Regions from separate parts of the Homo sapiens genome. Here regions 1, 3 and 4 are each linked to region 2. Evidence: promoter capture Hi-C in 16 types of primary human blood cells and fetal thymus (Javierre and others, 2016). All regions are on one chromosome and are shown on one strand. The core of a region is centred on a gene start or on the middle of the fragment in contact, and the rest is flanking DNA. Distances in the headings are between cores, read along the strand shown.

What was found. The method cuts DNA at HindIII sites, captures the fragments that hold promoters and counts their contacts. A CHiCAGO score of 5 or more calls a contact.
Region 1: a fragment that was not itself captured here is called in contact with the fragment with the promoter of TAF1D in region 2 in 2 of 17 cell types (non-activated CD4 T cells and total CD8 T cells); the score reaches 10.4 in non-activated CD4 T cells.
Region 3: a fragment that was not itself captured here is called in contact with the fragment with the promoter of TAF1D in region 2 in 1 of 17 cell types (total CD8 T cells); the score reaches 7.5 in total CD8 T cells.
Region 4: a contact is called between a fragment that was not itself captured here and the fragment with the promoter of TAF1D in region 2, in 1 of 17 cell types (total CD8 T cells). The highest score is 7.3, in total CD8 T cells.

What each region holds. Positions count from the first base shown.
Region 1 is chr11:96,392,501-96,395,200 of GRCh38, reverse strand. JRKL (JRK like) reads right to left here. Exons shown (of 2, transcript NM_001261833.2): 2 at 1,640-2,700. Among named protein-coding and RNA genes, the nearest start is that of JRKL, 3.8 kb to the right of the region's middle. The HindIII fragment of the contact is 6,237 bases long and covers 1-2,700 here.
Region 2 is chr11:93,740,227-93,742,926 of GRCh38, reverse strand. It overlaps TAF1D (TATA-box binding protein associated factor, RNA polymerase I subunit D), which reads left to right and starts at 1,432. Exons shown (of 6, transcript NM_024116.4): 1 at 1,432-1,605. It overlaps C11orf54 (chromosome 11 open reading frame 54), which reads right to left and starts at 1,255. Exons shown (of 9, transcript NM_001286069.2): 1 at 1,199-1,255. RefSeq lists enhancers at 1-42, 563-682, 449-1,134, 1,263-1,772. The HindIII fragment of the contact is 24,379 bases long and covers 1-2,700 here.
Region 3 is chr11:95,772,920-95,775,619 of GRCh38, reverse strand. All of the region lies in intron 9 of FAM76B (family with sequence similarity 76 member B), which reads left to right. Among named protein-coding and RNA genes, the nearest start is that of FAM76B, 16 kb to the left of the region's middle. The HindIII fragment of the contact is 4,010 bases long and covers 1-2,700 here.
Region 4 is chr11:95,796,800-95,799,499 of GRCh38, reverse strand. It overlaps CEP57 (centrosomal protein 57), which reads right to left. Exons shown (of 11, transcript NM_014679.5): 2 at 112-268. Among named protein-coding and RNA genes, the nearest start is that of CEP57, 7.7 kb to the right of the region's middle. The HindIII fragment of the contact is 3,381 bases long and covers 1-2,700 here.

The DNA.
Region 1 (2,700 bases), core at 141-2,640, 2.7 Mb before region 2:
CTACTTCAGACCAAGGCAGCTGAGCTGTATTTTGACACTTATGAGTGGCATAAGGAGGTATAATAATTTTGATATGAGTAGAGATGTCAACAACTGAGTTAAATAATTATTTGAACTTCTTAACCCATCTGGGTGGCTCTGACATTATGATGCTAATGGAGAGTTCACTATGGATGGGAAGCAAAGCATTAATTTTAATTTCCCTTCTAGACTAAGTCCAATTTCTCAATTGAATATATAAATCATAGAGCCAGACAGGGTGACTGGATCACATGCAGATAAGGGAAAAGGATGAAGTCACTCAGGAGCAGCAAAAATCAAGACCAATGCATAGCTTAGAATGTAAAGGGTATACAGAATAGAAATCAGAGGAGAAATGAATAAGCAACTAAATCTTGATGGTTTTTTTACATAGCTCACATCTTGTTATGTTGGTTCTTTTATATGAGCTTACAATTGAGGCAGATGGTTTTGGGGTTTTTTTTTTTTTCAAACATGTATAGTTTTTCCACCTTGATTTCAAGATGTTCAAGGAAAGCAACCTCTTCCCTTTCTTTCATATTTTCCTAAACCCACCACAGCTGGCAGTCTTCGACATACAGTAAAACTCAATAAATTTTTAATTTACTGGATTTCATCATGACAAAGAATTCAACTTTCTACAACCCCCTCGCCACAAAAAAGCCCAAATCTCTCAGAAAAAAAAGCAACATTATAATTTCCTACATGATCTTGTATTAGGTATATCTGCTCTCACAAAATTCTTGACTACTGGAAGTGTAAGAAACATTGCACTGTTATTGGCTTTCTGAGAGTATTGTGTCAAGGCATATCAATGAGAAAAAAATTCATGAAACTGGTGAGAGAACATAAGCCAATGGCAAATTTTTAAATAGATAAATAGAATGCCAAACACAGCCTCTGGTAAGGCACTGATAGAATAGGAATTAGGAGCTAAGGATATACAACTTTGGGGGCAGATACAGAACCCAAATAGCTTTTGGCTTCAACTGCTACAACTACTGATCAGCCTTTATAATTAAGGATAGAAGGATCCAAAACAGGGCTAGAGTACCAGTGTTGGCAGATTTCAGAGAATAGCTGTAAACCAAAGAAGAGCAGTCTCTTACAGGCTAGAGAAAGAGTCACAAGATTCACACTTATGGCCACAGAACAGTGAACCTTTTACTGGGGATTCAAGTTTAAAATCACACAGCTTAACAGTAATGTTAGTTTTACCACTAGGTGGCAATGACACAGCTGCATTGGGCTGACATGATTAATTTTAAAAACTGTGCAAATCCAGACAGAAATTCCAAGATCTGTAGTACATATTTTCATTTTAGAAAAATTATTTTATGTACAGCTTACTTTATAGCAGAACGTGTCATTATCTGATTCAATATGTATGTTAACTTCTGATGGTTTTTCACACTCTACACTGAGGAAATTCATGCAATAAACACTATTTTTAAACACTTTCATCACACATCTTCTGAAAAATATAGACATACACCTATCATGAAAATAAGAGAAATTATGGAAAACTAAAAATACTTTTGAAGTTTTAGTATTCTACAGAAAGCACTATAAAATGTTACGTATTTCAACAAAAAAAGTTAAACCTTTAAAAAATGACTAATAGAGAACAATTGTAATTTATTTTTTAAAAATTTTTGGCCAAAACATGAAATAGCATGGAAACACTTTACTTTTAAATTACAAGTTACATTAATATTCATATGTGCAAAGTAGTTTCAATGTCTTGAATAAACATACTTAGTTTACAAAAAAAATTTATCAAAATTCTGATTTAGATTACATTTTAGCAGATTAATCCCTTTTTATATGTATTAAAATAATAAACAATAATATTCCTTAGTGTCTGGCACTTTCAGTAATTATTTCTGCTTTCTTCATAAAACAGGATACAAACATATGACTTATTTAAAATCATAAAACTTTATTATTGTAATTTCCTTTTCTCATCAAAGGGCCAGATATGACAATATTTTTCAAATTATAGACAACATTTGTGAGTATGCAGTAAAAACACTAAAAAAAAAAAAAAAAAAACTTATTAAATCTCAAATTCCCAAGATGTTCCCCCATATAAGGTGGGAGCTCATATCATCACATGTAACATTACAAAACCTGTACTATAAAATTAGATGAATAAATAATAAACCTATACTATTACCAAATTCATAATAAAAAGATCAACTTACCAAATTAAAATCAGCCTATTTATTCCCTTTGTATAAATAACCTAAAGTTCCCCAGGTTTTTATTTCCCAGTTTCCTACAAATGAATTGATCAGAATGCCTCTTTATAGATCAGCTTTCCCATAGTTTCTCTCTCATTTGGCAATAACTTCCCATATTTACTTCATTTCCAGAATAATCTCCCCCTCTTGCAACCCACACAAATGTAAGAGAATGAAGGCATAATTTCTATAATTCATAATTATTTCCCCATTATTGAATTTCATTTTTGAATTATTATAAATCATCCTGAAATCTAATAATATAAATCTTTCTCATCCTATCAGTCTATTAAAATATACAAAACATCATTTAAGATGGTTAACACAAGAAAAGATAACTATGGCAGCCTTCATAAATCAAGCAAAAGATTTCAGAAAAGTGCTTCAGTCTGTTCAGTTATCTCTAACTTTCACTAGAAAATTAAGGGAATGC
Region 2 (2,700 bases), core at 183-2,682:
AGCACTTTTCCCCTTCTTTTTGAACAAGGGACGCTGCATTTTCATTTTGCATTGAGCCTCACAAATTACACAGCTAGGCTTGCTGCTGAATACGGCAGTGAGGGACATGCCATACCAGTCCTGGAGCTTCGTCATTGCCCAGACCCTGTGGATCAAATGCAGTGGGCTGCCTAAAGGATCGGACTTTTTATCCCCGGAATTGTCCAAACTATGGAGCAAAGCAGGTAAAGAGACCAGATTACTTTTAAGGCCCGTTCAATCCTAAAATGTGAACTATAAAATAAGACTAGACAGCTTTACTGATTTTTGTGGTTTATCATATGAAAACAGAATTTTGAAAGCGGAAAAATCAAACCAGTTCATTCCTTTTTAAAATTACTTTGGGAGGCCGAGGCGGGAGGATCACCTGAGGTCGGGAGTTTGAGACCAGCCTGACCAACATGGAGAAACCCCCGCCTCTACTAAAAATGCAAAAATTAGCTGGGCATGGTGGCGCACGCCTGTAATCTCAGCTACTGGGGAGACTGAGGCAGGAGAATCGCTTGAACCCGGGAAGCAGATGTTGCGGTGAGCCAAGATCGCACCGTTGCACTCCAGCCTGGGCAACAAGAGCGAAACTCGGTCTCAAAAAAAAAAAAATTACTTTGGGAGAAAAAAACCCCACCAAAACTAAACTAGTTTACACTGTTTAATCTTAACTCAGGAACCGGTCAAGGAACTAATGGTGTGGGGCAGGGGGGATGTAGGAGGAAACTTAGGAAAAACAAATCCTCCACAGGTCTCACTTGTGACATGTTAGCCAACTCCTGGGAGGCAGAAAGGGTGAGCTTACGAAACAGGTGCAAAAGTGGGGAGGAGACCTGGGCGTGCTATGGAATAACACTGGCGTCCAGCACAAAGGTTACACACTTCGAGTCATGGTCAAAGAATGAGCCTTCTCCAATATTTTAACACACAAGGGTTTCTGAAGGCAGAAATAGACAAAGGATTACAAAACACTCAGGCACACATCCCACCCGTCACCCTCGCCACACACCCGGGACCAGATTTAGAAAGCCAGGCGACAGCTCAGCAAACGCGAGACCACCGGAAACGAACCGGGCTGAGAGGCTGTTTCCTCACAGTTCTCATCCACTCACAAGTGACCGCACGTTTTGTTTTTGTTATTTGCCGAAATGTTCTTGGCTATTCCACTCACCTAAACGGTCACGGTAGCAAAACACCCAGAGTCCGGATCTTCGCCTAGGCCAACCCCGCCTCCTCAGAATACGCGAGCTAGAGCTCCGCCCACGTTAGTCAGTCCTCCCTGCGCGGCGAGAAAAATGGCGCCCCCACGTCGCGTCTCCTCCCACCGCTCGCCTTCTTCCCGGAAGCTAAGTTGTATCGCGAGATTTCGGCCTGACTATTACTTGGGCCACGGAAATAGCCAACCCTTTTCTTCCGCACGGTTGGAGGAGGTCGGCTGGTTATCGGGAGTTGGAGGGCTGAGGTCGGGAGGGTGGTGTGTACAGAGCTCTAGGACACCAGGCCAGTCGCGGGTTTTGGGCCGAGGCCTGGGTTACAAGCAGCAAGTGCGCGGTTGGGGCCACTGCGAGGCCGTTTTAGGTAGGTTGCTAAGAGGGCGAGGCCGTCCGGGCCTGGCGGGCGGGGGAGGCGTTGCATATCTGGGGTTTCCCGGGGCCCCTTCGTTGGTCCGGAGGATCGAGACTCCGAAGTCGGTCCGAGAGGGTGAAGGGATCACGGCCGCAGGCCACTCCGCGCCACGCGGCTGGTATGAGTCCCACACAAACGTGGTTGTAGTGTGGACGGGCTTCATTATATCTTGAGATGGAGGTGTTAAATCGTGTTGCGGACAAGTTTAACCTTATTACGTGATTTAAATGATTTAACCTTCGTATGTGAGGTACCCATTACTCGCGCCGGTTTTCTGCAGGTTAGGCGCTGCCGGGTGAGAGGCGCTGGTGGTCACAGCGTTAGCTCCGGGTAAAGCGCCGCTCTCTGCCCACGTGGCCTCTAAGAATTGCAGAATCCCCACGGAGGCATCGACACCCAAGTAGGAGTGTCTTCTAAACACTTCGAAAAAGTGATTATTGAGCTAGCTTTATTTTGATAATCCCTACTTTTAAAAAAAATTAACTACAGGTATACCGTTAAAGCATGGGGGCAAATTTTTGTTGAATTCCGTTTTTGAGCATTCGATATTTAATGACTTTGTAGAATCTTGTACTTAAAAAAACTAGTAAGACCTTGTACCAGGAAAATACCACAGGGGGCATTTAACAAATCTGAGCTCTTGGTGACCTTATCGTTTCATATTTTAAATATTTTGCTAGTTCATCCTAGGATTTATATGTAATGACTCATGTCAGGTCCCAAGAAGCTACAGAATGAGACAAGAGATTGACTAAGGCATGTACAATAATGAAATAAGTAGTTATCTTTAATTTTTGTTGCCATGCCTTTTTTTTTTTTTTTTTTTTTTTTTTTTTTTTTCCTGAGACAGGGTCTTGCTCTGTCGTCCAGGCTGGAGTGCAGTGGTGCAATCTCGGCTAACAGCAACCTCCACCGCGGCTTAAGCGATCCTCCCGAGTGGCTGGGAGCAAAGGCACGGGCCAACACACCTAGCCAGTATTTTAAGAATTTTTTGTAGAGACAAGGGTCTCCTTGTGTTGCTGAGGCTCACTACATACAAGCTCCACC
Region 3 (2,700 bases), core at 53-2,552, 2.0 Mb before region 2:
AAAAATCAGATTAATGAAACTAAGGTGAAAAGCAGGTCTTCAGTAGCAATCATTCCTCACATTAATATTTCCTTCCAGATAATGGGAAAGGAGATGGGTGTATAAAACCAATTCTTAAGGACCTGGAGTGGCAAAAATGTGTGCAAAGCAAGAGAGTTTACTTAACCTGTGTACAGTGGTTCGCAAAGTGCCAAATAGGGTTCTGCTAAATGCTAACAGGTAGTGATCCACCTGAACCTCAGAGTACTGCAAAGTAGCAGTTTAAGTATACAGAACAACTGAATGGTAAAGTCAAGAGTCACCACAGTAATAATCTGATGTCTGGCATGCAGAGATGGTGAACATCCAACATGGATACAGAATGCTACCATATTAAGCTGCTTCTCTTCTAGGTTTCATACATTTAGAAATCAGACCACACTAAATTAATTACATGTTCTCTTTGATTTATACAGTCTCACATTTGTAAAATTAGTCTTTAGTAACAAAATTTTTAAGGTGAAAGAAGTTTTAAATGTTAATGGAAGATGGCAGCACACAGACGTCAGACTTGGGAGAGTACAGCTTCAGAAGGAAGGAGTTAATACTGTCCTGTTTCATTTTGTTTTTTTTTTTTCACATTGTAACACCAAAGGATATTTGCTATTTCTTTCTTTTGGTTTTGTATTATTCATACTTCTTTGCAAGTAGCTTAAATTAGTAGGATTTAGGAACTTGCTCAAATTCGAGGTACAGATTATCTGGTCTTAATCCCTATCATACTATTACAAAGACTGTTGAAAAAGGAACCTCATGTAGAACCTGAGACATAGTAGGCATTCAAATAATTTGTTGACTAGGTGGTGATTTATGGAAATGCCCATCAGCCCTCTGTTCTGAGAGATTGCCCGTATCATATATCAGATTCTTATATATTAGTCAATGTTTTTATCCACCAGCAAGTATTATTTTTAATTTTATGTTATTCCTGTTTTTCTTACTCAGTTATTAATGCTGAATGATTACCTGGAACAAAATCTTCCACCTGGTGATCTTTGATTTAATGTAATGTAACCAAAGCTCTGAAGTAAATCCAGAATGAGATAACAGAATAACTGCAATAGGTGCTCAGATATGTTTTAACTTAGTGCTCCCCACTGTTCAAAAGAGCAGTTTGTGTGTTGGTTTTTCTTTTTTAAAATCATAGTTGCAAATACATGGGGTCATCTTTGACTTAGCCTGATAGATATCTTAGGCCTACCTCCTCTTGGTAATTGAAGTTTCATGTAGTATAAAAGTAACCAATATTTAAATAGGACATTTTGACATGATTTTACATATGCTGTCTTACTTGTTGCAAAAACTGGGTTATGTGATATGCCCATTTTACAGAGGAAACTGTGATCACACAGTAAGCGGTGACGTAGAAATCTCTGTCTTCTCACTCCAGTTTATCTATACTTTTCCCTGTCCTACACTAGTTCCCACCACTTCAGGTTCCTCAGGTTTTCTATTTCATCCTTCCTATCAGGCCACTTCCCTGATTTTTTTGTGTTATGGCTAGAGACAATCTGTCATAGCTGAGTGCCATCTTTTTACCTCACTTCCTTTAGCAACCAAGTGATACTAGTAGGATTCTTTACTGAGGTGAGGAAACCGGTAATTTTTTTTTTATCTTTATGTAATAAGGAATTGAATCCTGTGACACAAGATGGATCTTGCTCTAATAGCTAGTAAAATATTTTTAACTGCCAAACCTACGACAAAACACTGAACATCACATGAAAAAATTGTTCAAAATGTCACCCCAAAATACCCCAAATATTGAAAATACTAAGAATATCAAGTTAAAACTCTTATTCACTTAATTAGGTAAGTGGTTAAAAGGAAAAGGGACCTAACATTTGAGTGCCTTCTGTGTACCAGGAACTGTGTTAGGCTAAGTGTTTTATATATTTGATAAGTTCCTTCAACTCATTTTGAGTTCGGATGGTGGAGTTTGTGTTACAAATGAGAAAATATGCTCCAGGTTATGTAGCTGGTAAGTAAGCCAGGATTTAAAGCAGGATCTATGTAATTCTTAATCCTGATATTCTTTCCTTTGCACCAACATGTCTAAACTTTAAAACTTAGCTTTCTTAAGAGTCTGTAAAGAATTTCATTGATTTTTTTTTTTTTTTTTGGCTGGCTGCAAAATGAAGTAATTTTAGGATAAAACAATTTAAATGTACATATATTGAAATATGGCATAAAATTCATTTTTAAAGTATTCAAATTAGAATAATTTGGACTTGTACTTAACAATTGTGTTATTTATTTACCATAAAGACTTTTGTCTTATGTAATTTATTAAGAAATATCTTTATTAGTGATATAAATATATTAAAAGCAAATTGGAAATTAGCTACCAAAGCATTAAATGGAAAAATTGCTTTGAAGACCTAATGTTCAAATTATTGTATTTTGTACTTAAAATATGAAAATTATAAACACTTTATTTCTTGATAATTGAGATAAGAACTTGGAGATTCACATTTTAACTATTTTGTATCAGTATAAACATTTTTAGATAAATATAACTTAACAGATCTAGTGGAGATCTTTTTGAGTCAAATTTGCAGACTCAAAATTTGAAATTGATACTGAATTTGAAATTGAAGTTTTTCGTTACCACCTTAGTTATTAATAACCACTGAATAGGAAAGTTCTATTGATCATGCA
Region 4 (2,700 bases), core at 84-2,583, 2.1 Mb before region 2:
AGCAAAGGGGAAATATATTTTCCTCTAATGGCAAAATAATGGAGGACAAAGTTAAGAATTTTAAAGCAGCAAGAAAACACAAATAACATTTATTTCGTTAGGCTCGATTACCTCTGCTGTTGCTTTCTGGATAGGCAAGTGTAGGCTTACTTGGGGAGCGTCGTAGATCACTATTAAGGAAAGGCTTATCCGAAGGATATACTACATATGGAGATGAAGAATGCCGAACCATGCTTCCATTAGACCTTGATGGCTCAGCAAAGCTGTTCTAAAAAATAAAGACACAAATTACCTTTCAAAAGTGTGAACCACAAATAGCAGATTTAAATCACAAATATTTATGACTGAGATTGACTGTCCATACAGACAACAGAAAAAATCCACTGACTAGAAACAATACAATTCAATCATTAAAGAAATACAACTTTTAAAGTGTTTCATATTAGTCTGAATATAGCCATATGCCAGACACAAGAAGAAAATAATGTTCATACAACTTGAATACAAATGCTGTGCAGAAATACTTAAATGATACAATGAATGTAAATACCGCAGTTAAAAATATATACTGTGAAATATACGTTCAGAAAAATAAAAACATTATTTTTACAGGACCAGAAACTGCTACAAATGACTGAATTACTCTATTCCCCATCCACAAACTACTACTTGAATATTTATAGTATTCAAAACTCCAGAAAGAAAATAAGGCACTGTCCTTGCCTCAAATACTTTACATTTAATTAACAAAAAAGAAAATAATTAGAAAACATTAAGGCCCATCAAACACTCAAACATAAAACTTTATTTCCACAGTACACCATTCTGTCATGAATGAGATTCTGTTAAATTTAGGATTCCACATAATAATTTCAACCCAGGAGATGCTAACTGTGGAGTTTTATTTGTTGTAGGCGACTTCCTACTGACAGATGGTCCTAGACTGGGGGAAGTAACTAAGAAGCTGAGGGCTAAGGTGGAAGATATGACTACCAGCTATTCAAAATGTTCATCCACTTTCCTTCCTCAAACGGCCACAGCAAACTATGTTTTTCAATTCTTACCTTTGAAGATTTACATTTACCAGAATAATCCGTGTTCATAAAAGTACAAGAGCACAATGAATATTTAAAACAGTAAACAATCTCCTGAAACAAAGGCTATCGAAATACCTGCACTGTATTTAAATCTTATTTAAAATTAAAGATTTTACTTCCATGTTAAAAATCATGCAAATTTCCAGGTGATTTAAGAAAGCAAATATAAAACATTTTCTATTTATATAAATATAAAACACACTATGGCTATGACAATCAAAAGTGGGGACAAAGAGCTTAGGAGGGTAGGGCCAAGTCTTAAAAGTGGTACTCAAATAAATAAGTGCTAAGTCTACTATAGTATGTTCATATATAACAAAGACTAGTATTTGTCATTTTCCAAACTTAATGGCAAATTGGCATCTGGTTTTACAGGTAACTGGAAAATAGGATGAGTTTTCAATTCTTTATAATATTGTCAAAGGTCTTGCAAAGCATCCTCAATTACTGCATAGCTTAATTTTAAATGTCACAGAGAACCTCAAGTTTTCATTGGTTATTTACAACCCACCAGAATCCTATCATTTAATATTCAAAAATATTAAGTGACTTGCCGACCACCCTCTGCCCAGTCAGGGGAATCCCATTAACTATGTGATTAACTAACAAACTAGTTCCCCAAATGGAACTACCTCTGTTCTACATTTTGTATGTTAGTGGGCTTGCCCTTTACTATTTTATATCACTCCTCATGACATATACATTTTTATTATCTGTATGCCCTGTGGTATAATAAAAAATATATTTAGTCTTTTGTCCTTGGTTTCAGATACAGATTCAAAAACTCCTAGAATTTCTTAAGTGATAGGGTATCCTTGTTAGGCTGATGAAGGGACTCAAGGTAGGGCACCTAGGTAGCTTCAGGTTTGAAGGCATCTTCTGGAAGCTGGTTGCCAGAAAAACCAACCACTAGATTATAAAGAGCTACAGATTTCAGCCAGGCATGGTGGCTCATGCCTGTAATCCCAGCACTTTGGGAGGCCGAGCTGGGCGGATCACTTGAGGTCAGGAGTTCGAGACCAGCCTGGCCAACATGGTGAAACTCTGTCTCTAACTAAAATACAAAGAAATTAGTCAAGTGTGGGGGTGTGCCCTGTAATCCCAACTACTCAGGAAGCCAAGGCAGGAGAATCACTTGAACCCAGGAGGTGGAGGTTGTGGTGAGCCAAGATTGGGCCACTGCACTACAGCCTAGGCAAGAGAGTGAGACTCCGTCTGTGTGTGTGTGTGTTGGGAGGGGGGTGGGGTGGGGGGGAAGAGTCACAAATTTCAGCCCTAGGCCCTGACCTTAGGGGAGGTAAGGGACAGATTGAGCCCAGTGACCAGCGGACAATAATTTACTCAATTATGTATTTATGTAATGAAAGCTCAATGAAAACTCTTGAATAATGAGGTTTGGGGAGCTTCTAGATTGTTGAACATACTGATATGCTGGGAAGGTGCTGCACCAGAGGATACAGAAGCCCTTTCACACCTTGCCCTATGTCTCCTCCATTTGGCTGTTTCTGAGTTGTGTCCTTTATAAAACTGAAATTGCTTAAGAACAGTCTTTCCTGAGTACTGTGAGCCGTTCTTGGAAAGCTGCAGGAATCCCATAATTTGT